Regions from separate parts of the Homo sapiens genome. Here region 1 is linked to region 2. The links are contacts of gene promoters, found by promoter capture Hi-C in blood cells and fetal thymus (Javierre and others, 2016). All regions are on one chromosome and are shown on one strand. The core of a region is centred on a gene start or on the middle of the fragment in contact, and the rest is flanking DNA. Distances in the headings are between cores, read along the strand shown. Region 1 overlaps ADAMTS19 (ADAM metallopeptidase with thrombospondin type 1 motif 19). Region 2 holds the start of ADAMTS19 (ADAM metallopeptidase with thrombospondin type 1 motif 19).

Region 1 (3,997 bases), core at 142-2,641, 280 kb after region 2:
TTTTCCTCAGAAAAACCTGCAGCATACAGGCCATGCCATCTTCAACCCTGCAATGAGAAAATTAATGTAAATACCATAACATCACCCAGACTGGGTAAGCAGACAAAAAAAAAAGATGCTTTTGAAAAACATAGAAATGCTTATGGCTTCTTGTATTTTGTATATTACTTTAAACCTTGATAGTTGTAAATCTATACTGATTATTTTGGTTTGCACTAAATTGGATCCATTTAAATATGATTTCGTCCAAATGGTCAGGTGGGTAAAAAAGTCCTAAAAACTTAAACTGCTTTGATTCCCAAAGTTGTCCAATCAGAGCCAGGTCCAGGAAATAATGCCACACCACCCCAGGTCTTTTTGTAACCAAAATTTAGACTCGGATCAATCTCATGGCAGAACTATCAATTAAGTTAATATCTGTGGAAAGATGAGATTGTAGTGTAAGCCTTAGATTTCTCCATGGTTGATAGCCTTCCTTGTGATCTGGGTATAAATTATTCTTTGGAGGGACACAGACTAAAAAATGTCTTTCAAGAAGAATGGGTGCATGGATCTACACCATTAAACAAGAAGTTCTATTTTCTTTTTAAGTTTTGAGAATATGATACTAAATAAAAAATACATTCTAGTAATATTGACTATATTGATATTTACATTGTTTTATGTTATGAAATGCCTTCATATATATATCCTCAATTTCTGTTATTTAATCTAACCCATAATTGAGAATTAGACTACATATTTTAAGTAGATATAGCCTACACTTGCATAACAAATACTAATGAATGATTTAGCATTTACATCTTGACTATTAGTAGCATTTAACAGCACTCTTGCCTCATTGTCAGTGGGTTAATTTATATTTAATACCTTTGGTTTTAACCTGTGCATATAATCTCCAGGGGAACAATTGGAATCATACAAAATAATATTACCAAAATGTAAGAAGATAAATTATCATGTGTATTTTTCCAGGCATAAGACTCAATCAAATGTGAAAGCTTGGTTTCTTCGAAATACAAAAATTCTCTTTTTAGGGCCAAATAATTAACTAGCATTCCTAAGAAATAATGAGTTCAAGGTGAATAACACTAATTAAGACAAAAAGTTAAGCAATTCTAGAGCAGATGTACTAAATCCATTTATTCAATAGCAGTATAATTCCTTTCTCCAACAATTAGTTGGAGTCCTTGAAATATTACATGGCAGAAAATAATGGATTAAAAGAAAAAATTTGTTAAAATTGCATTTTCTCTATTTATTATTCCTTGAAGGTATACCCCAAAATACAGAAGCACAATGGTTAGGAAAATCTAAGGTGTTTAAAAATAGAATAATTATATTAGAATACGATTCATTCTCATATGCAAAAGAAATAATTGTAGCAGCAGTGACTTTCATTATGCATTCCAGAACACACTGTTTTACAAAAAGGGAGGCCAAGTCTACATGACCAAATATTCTATACCAACTTCTCATTTCAAACACTTCAACTATTGCTGTAAATCTCAGTCGCTTGTGATGATATGCATTAATTTTTATAGAAGCCTGAAATCACAGCTCCAGGTAATCCATTTAGATGTGTCTGTTATCTGGGGAAACTAGGAATATGAAATAACTGTGAGCATATTTTTACTTTGCTGTTTCCTTGTAATTTCAACCCTAATAATAGTATTTATTAATTTGTATTCACATAAAGGTAGATATATTGAGCACATTTATTTTTCTTTTTAATTTTCTCTACTAAAATTCAAAAGCAACTTAAATGCAAGCTATGAAACTGAAGCTTAAAAGTACAACACATTGAACCTGGGAATTATATCTTTAATAGGCCTAAAAACATTTATAAGTAAAAATATTATTCATTCTTTACTTTTTAATCATAGGAGGTGTGTATGTGTGTGTATCTCTTTCTTGTTTAAATTCCAGAAGGTAATATAAATGAACCAAAGAGAGTGTACAAAATCCGCCCCACTTAAACGCTTGAAGTTGGTTTTTACTGACATATATGATATCTGCATGGAGTGAATTCACTATGTTCTGTTTCACAGCTGCTCTGACTTTCAAGTGCCTGGGAGATCAGTGGCCAGTGTACTGCCGAGTGATACGTGAAAAGAACCTATGTCAGGACATGCGGTGGTATCAGCGCTGCTGTGAAACATGCAGGGACTTCTATGCCCAAAAGCTGCAGCAGAAGAGTTGACCTCTAGCAGGCTGGCTGGATCACAGCTCTTGGCAATTACATTATTTATAAACACACACACTAGCATGTTTTTCAGACCAAATATTATCAGATTACATATAATTTAATCAAATTAATTTATTTTTTTGCCTGCCAAACATCCAATGTGGTGCTTGTTTTGGTTACACAAACATTTTGATTTATACTATATGGCTTCATAAATAATTTTATATGAATGAATTAGTTGGATCCAGTAATATAATAAAAAGAAAAAGGAAAAAAATAGATCATTATACTTAAAACAAGTTTTCGTTGTTTGTTAGGGCTATCTCTAAGGTGCTACTCTCTCCCCACCAATAACATTGAATTATCCAGAATGTATACTGACTTAGCATAATAGTTTAGGTGTATATGAAGAGAAACTATTTTTGTTTTTTGGTGTCCTGCTGCAGAATTAGCCCATTTTCTGTCACCTGCAGGAGATGTGTAAACATAATGAACCTCATGCTGTTGAACAGGTTTTTAGAGAATGTATTATGAATTTGGTTCAGATTTATAGACATCCATAGGAAAAATTCTGCTGTAATTATAACCTTATTTTGATATGGAAAAGAAAAGTCAAAATAGAGACTTTGATCATGTTCATGAACATGTACTTGAACACAAGTATTGTAACAATGAAACACTGTAATGATTTACACTGAATCACAATTGCACTGTTGATATAGTGTAGAGAAATCGTTAGAAATGGTGACATCTTACAAAAAATGTGTATTATTTTAACATGTTATCACTAGATTTTAGCTTTTTTTAAATATTTTTAACAAAGAAAACATTGATCCACCCATTTCCCTGTATCTTTTTAGCAGATTTATTAAAGAGTATAGTACTTAGCCTCACGAATCATAATTAGAAAATTTACTAGTATTTCTCAGCCTTTTCCCTAGGAACAAGGAAAAACAGAAAGCATATAATACGGTGGTCGTTTCATTGTGTTTTTCTTCCTTTTAAAAATTAAAAAGTTTTACAATTATGTGAAACGTTCAAAAGCCAGCTTAAAATTTTTCTTGTGAGAAAATATTATACATGATTCACATGATTTCTTAGATTTTTCAATAAAATATGTAAAACTTCCCACTGAGAGACAATTCTTCATAGACTTGTCACATATCCACATGTCTGATGAACAAAGGTACTGTCTACTTTTGTTCTGGAGTATCTTCTAGAGGATGTTTATAGAGTGAACTGCCTTGGAAGATAGTATGTCTCTTGGGAGCAAAGGGCAAACATACTTCTCATTATAAAAGTTTCAGGTTCCCTAAAATTGGGGTTTCTTTACTATAAGACAATCCAATGTATGTTCTGAGGTCACCTGGCTCTCTTCATGTCACCCTTTGGGAAATGGGGCTCAACGAGCCAGTACAGGAAAAGCTGATTCCCTGGCTACTACTATCGCTGTGAGTAATAAAGTCCTTTGTGTCTAATGCAGGAGTCTCATGTCTTCTACCCTGAAATCATAACAGGCTAACTTGATAAGTTGCAAGTAAGGTAAAACCTCAAAAGCTTCACAGTTCTTTACATTTCTGTCATTAATATTTTTCGCCTTCATTTTAATAAATGTGTTTTAATATCGAGGTCACCTTTTTCCTAGATTGACCATTCCTATGTAGGTCCTTTAATTTAATTGCTGAGATATAGGGTTAACCAATATCAACAAATTTTATGTGAAATAGTAGACGAATGGGAGAAGGAAAAATTGAAATAGTAAGTTCCATCCCTTGACTCCTGAATCCATAAATCTAGGTAGAAATAGCA
Region 2 (3,959 bases), core at 564-3,063:
GCCTAGCTTTAAATCTGTAAAATTGAGTCTCATGAAAAAAAGCATTTAGGTTTCTAAGTAACCCAGATATTTCTTGAGCATCTGGAAACCCACATGTTAGTTACTCCAGCATTAGAGATTTTATAAGACAGCGTTTAGAGGCAGATCACTCTTGACAAAGTCACCTTGAGTGTTTTTGCCTTTGTTTCTAAACTCTGGACAACTCAAAGAAAGTATTATAGGACTCAGCTAATTCAAACAATGGCTTTCCTTTGAAATAAGATCGTCTGCTTCCCTTAAAGGCATAGTAGTCACCTTTGACACAAGGAACAGAAGGTAAAATAACAAAGGAAGTGGTGAACCAACCTCAGTTCTGGAATTAAAAAAAAAAAAAACTGATTTGCATTAATTATCATTTCTAGGTGTCTGGCCTAGTCCAGAGGATGCAAATGGCAGTTCAGATCAATCATCCTTAAATCGGATGTGAACGCTTTGATGTGGCTGAGGGAGAGTTGTGGAAAGGGGAGTAGGTACCATGAAGAGAATTGCAACAAAGGAAAAAAAAATATATGGGGTTGAATTGCCCCAAAGAGGACAGAAACAGCAAAAACATATTTTTTTATGTACAAGTAAAAAGTACAGAAGACAAAATAATCTCACCTGGTCTGAGATCTTTAGAATATAATGTTTAATGTTGATTCCCTTACTCTTACTCCTTTTAGGACTCGTGTGTGTGTGTGTGTGTGTGTGTGTGTGTGTGTGTGTGTAATGGGGTGGGGTAGGGGAAGGAGAGAAACTGATAGTACTGATGAATGGGGAGCTAGAAAGACAAGGAAGGAAAAGAGGCTCTGAAACCTAAGGGTGCCTACTGTCCTGGGAAACTTTAAAGCATATTCCATGACGAATTACATTATCTCCGGGCTTAGAAAATTCCGAAAAAGATGGGAAGACAAATCAAAGGCCTTTGATAAATGAGGCCTCAGTTTTGTGGTCAAGTCTGCACTAATTTTTGCCTTGTGTGATGTGCGAATTTGACAAAAAGAGGCGCTGGATTGAGGAGTGGGATGGGAAGGGGGAGGCACCTCTACCTGCACACGGGGGCAGGGGATGGATGCAAATCAGGCCTTCCCGAGTGGCCAATCAATAGTCAGGTGAGGGATTTTGGGTCCCCACCCCATCCCAACCGGCGTTTGAGCACGTGCACGGTGTTCTGGGACCTTTGTCCCGCAAAGTCACGCTTGGCGGGCACCCCTTGGTCCCTTTTTCTGGTCAGATGTGCTTGATTCTTTTCTGCTCTACAACCCACCTCTCTAGTCGTGTCTTCCCATCTCCCTACTCATTCCCTCCCGCGCCGCTGCGGGTGAGAGCCTTCAGCGGTGCGTCCTAAGGAGCGTGAGGAGTGTGCGGAGCTTGGCACACCAAGTTGCTGAGACTGTGACACCAGCCTCCGCCCGTTCCGCGCGGGTGCAGGCGGCGAGCCTCGGCTCGGACACCACAGCTCTCCTGCCCGCGCCGGGCAGTCCTCTGCCTGTCCAGAGGCAGCACTCCCGGCTCTCGGCTGGCTGTGGGTCTGTCTTGTGGGGCTCCAGCACTAGCCTGCTCGGCCTCGGAAACTCCTGCAGCGTCCAGAACACAGAAAATAGACTCATCTCCTAATTCGCCAGGGAGCTCGAGGGCTGCGGGGCCGCGGGGCTGCCTCCCCCGCTCCTCCCCCAACCCGACCCCACCCCACCCCCGCCAGGGCTTCGGCGGCCTCCCGGAGTCACACAGCCTACCCCCCCACCCCAACACCCCCTCCCCCGGCAGACAAAGGGCCTGGGCAAATTCGCCGCCCGGCCTCCTAGCGCTCCGGGGAGGCCGCTGCGCCCCGGAGTGGATCGCGCTGGAGGCGTGCGCCGGGCGAGAAGCCGCGGCCGCGGGAGCGCAGTATGGGGAAGAACCGCGAGATGCGCCTGACTCACATCTGCTGCTGCTGCCTCCTTTACCAGCTGGGGTTCCTGTCGAATGGGATCGTTTCAGGTAAGTTCTTCCGTGACTTTCTCGCTTCCTTTCCAGCCATCCCAGCGGAGACCGCGAACGTACGGGTCGGCAGGGCTGGTGCAACCGGTGCGTGGAGAGCAGGGCTCAGTGGGTAGCAATAAAAATGAGCTTGAGGTGCAGGTTAAGGGGTCAAGTTCGGAAATGAAGCACACTTCTGCCGGCCTCGTTTTAACCGTATGTGGAATAGTTTCCTTCTAATTAGAGCAATAATATTTGCAAAGGTACGTTTACAGCACCTGGAGGAAAATTAGAACGTACCTAAGTTGATAGCAACGCTCTGCTCTAGCATACACTTCAGAAATCGTTTACTCGTGCTGGAGTCTTTGCATCGGTTTTCTTTTCAACAATGAAGTGCGGTCACCAAACTTTGATTCCCCCTCCCCCGCCCCTAATATAATCGTACTTTTACTCTGAAAATGCTGGGGTCTGTAATCTGATCGCAAGGCTTCTGGGGTTGCAGAGTTTCAGGGTCTAGACGGGTGGTCTCCATTGCATTCAACGCGAGCGCCCTGTATCTATGGACTGTGAGCTTGGAAATGTTTGTGCTACTGGAACCGCGGCACTTTAAGCCCCGCACTTCTGTCTGCCCCGCCCGCAGAGCTGCAGTTCGCCCCCGACCGCGAGGAGTGGGAAGTCGTGTTTCCTGCGCTCTGGCGCCGGGAGCCGGTGGACCCGGCTGGCGGCAGCGGGGGCAGCGCGGACCCGGGCTGGGTGCGCGGCGTTGGGGGCGGCGGAAGCGCCCGGGCGCAGGCTGCCGGCAGCTCACGCGAGGTGCGCTCTGTGGCTCCGGTGCCTTTGGAGGAGCCCGTGGAGGGCCGATCAGAGTCCCGGCTCCGGCCCCCGCCGCCGTCGGAGGGTGAGGAGGACGAGGAGCTCGAGTCGCAGGAGCTGCCGCGGGGATCCAGCGGGGCTGCCGCCTTGTCCCCGGGCGCCCCGGCCTCGTGGCAGCCGCCGCCTCCCCCGCAGCCGCCCCCGTCCCCGCCCCCGGCCCAGCATGCCGAGCCGGATGGCGACGAAGTGTTGCTGCGGATCCCGGCCTTCTCTCGGGACCTGTACCTGCTGCTCCGGAGAGACGGCCGCTTCCTGGCGCCGCGCTTCGCAGTGGAACAGCGGCCAAATCCCGGCCCCGGCCCCACGGGGGCAGCATCCGCCCCGCAACCTCCCGCGCCACCAGACGCAGGCTGCTTCTACACCGGAGCTGTGCTGCGGCACCCTGGCTCGCTGGCTTCTTTCAGCACCTGTGGAGGTGGCCTGGTAAGCGCCTTCTTTCCCTAGCTCTCCATTTTCCCCTGCTGCTCCTCTCCTTGCCCATAGGTCAGGATGATTTGCATGCACCTTCTCCCCTTTCAGTGTGCTCCTTTTGAGCTTGGCCCTAGACTGCACCCCCAGGTGTCTACATCGTTTGCCTCCCATGGAACATCTCCAGGGCAGTTGTGTAAATCGGAAGTTTAATTGGGTGGATAAATGGCCTTCTCCTTCCAGATGGTTATGTGTCTTTCAAAACTGCGTGAAACTCTGCCTTTTCGTAACTTCTTCCCAATGGCTCAACTTCTTTCTGTTCTCCAGAGTTTTCCAAACTAAGCGCTCCACGTGATGTCTTTTAGGAACTCGAAAGACAACCAGTCGGCTCACTGATGAATCTCCTTCGTGTTTGCGCCGCACTCTCAGTTCCTCATCTGTTATCTTAGAGCTTTTTCATAACCTACTTCAAAGTTGAAAGAACAGTTCTATAGGGGATTACTCTGACAGTTGTCTAGAATTTAAACACATCCAGAGTCATACTGGACACCTGTTCACTGTTCTTGTGAAAGGAGTTGGGAGGGACTCAACTGAGAGACTGGAGGTTGAGTAACGGGTGACATTAGAATCCGATCTGTGTTCAAAGGGTTATGGTTCTGTGATTTACATTTCATTTGACAGTAGTTCCTTTTCTTCTTTCC

Evidence for each region. Contacts are between HindIII fragments. The CHiCAGO score rates a contact against its expected background, and 5 or more counts as called.
Region 1: a contact is called between a fragment that was not itself captured here and the fragment with the promoter of ADAMTS19 in region 2, in 1 of 17 cell types (megakaryocytes). The highest score is 5.2, in megakaryocytes.

What each region holds. Positions count from the first base shown.
Region 1 is chr5:129,735,016-129,739,012 of GRCh38, forward strand. ADAMTS19 (ADAM metallopeptidase with thrombospondin type 1 motif 19) reads left to right here. Exons shown (of 23, transcript NM_133638.6): 22 at 1-94; 23 at 2,052-3,668. The coding sequence ends at 2,203. Among named protein-coding and RNA genes, the nearest start is that of MINAR2, 11 kb to the right of the region's middle. The HindIII fragment of the contact is 785 bases long and covers 1,000-1,784 here.
Region 2 is chr5:129,458,485-129,462,443 of GRCh38, forward strand. ADAMTS19 (ADAM metallopeptidase with thrombospondin type 1 motif 19) reads left to right here and starts at 1,814. Exons shown (of 23, transcript NM_133638.6): 1 at 1,814-1,998; 2 at 2,618-3,273. The coding sequence starts at 1,908. It overlaps ADAMTS19-AS1 (ADAMTS19 antisense RNA 1), which reads right to left and starts at 2,205. Exons shown (of 2, transcript NR_125748.1): 1 at 1,941-2,205; 2 at 1,075-1,595. RefSeq lists an enhancer at 773-1,735. The HindIII fragment of the contact is 6,646 bases long and covers 1-3,959 here.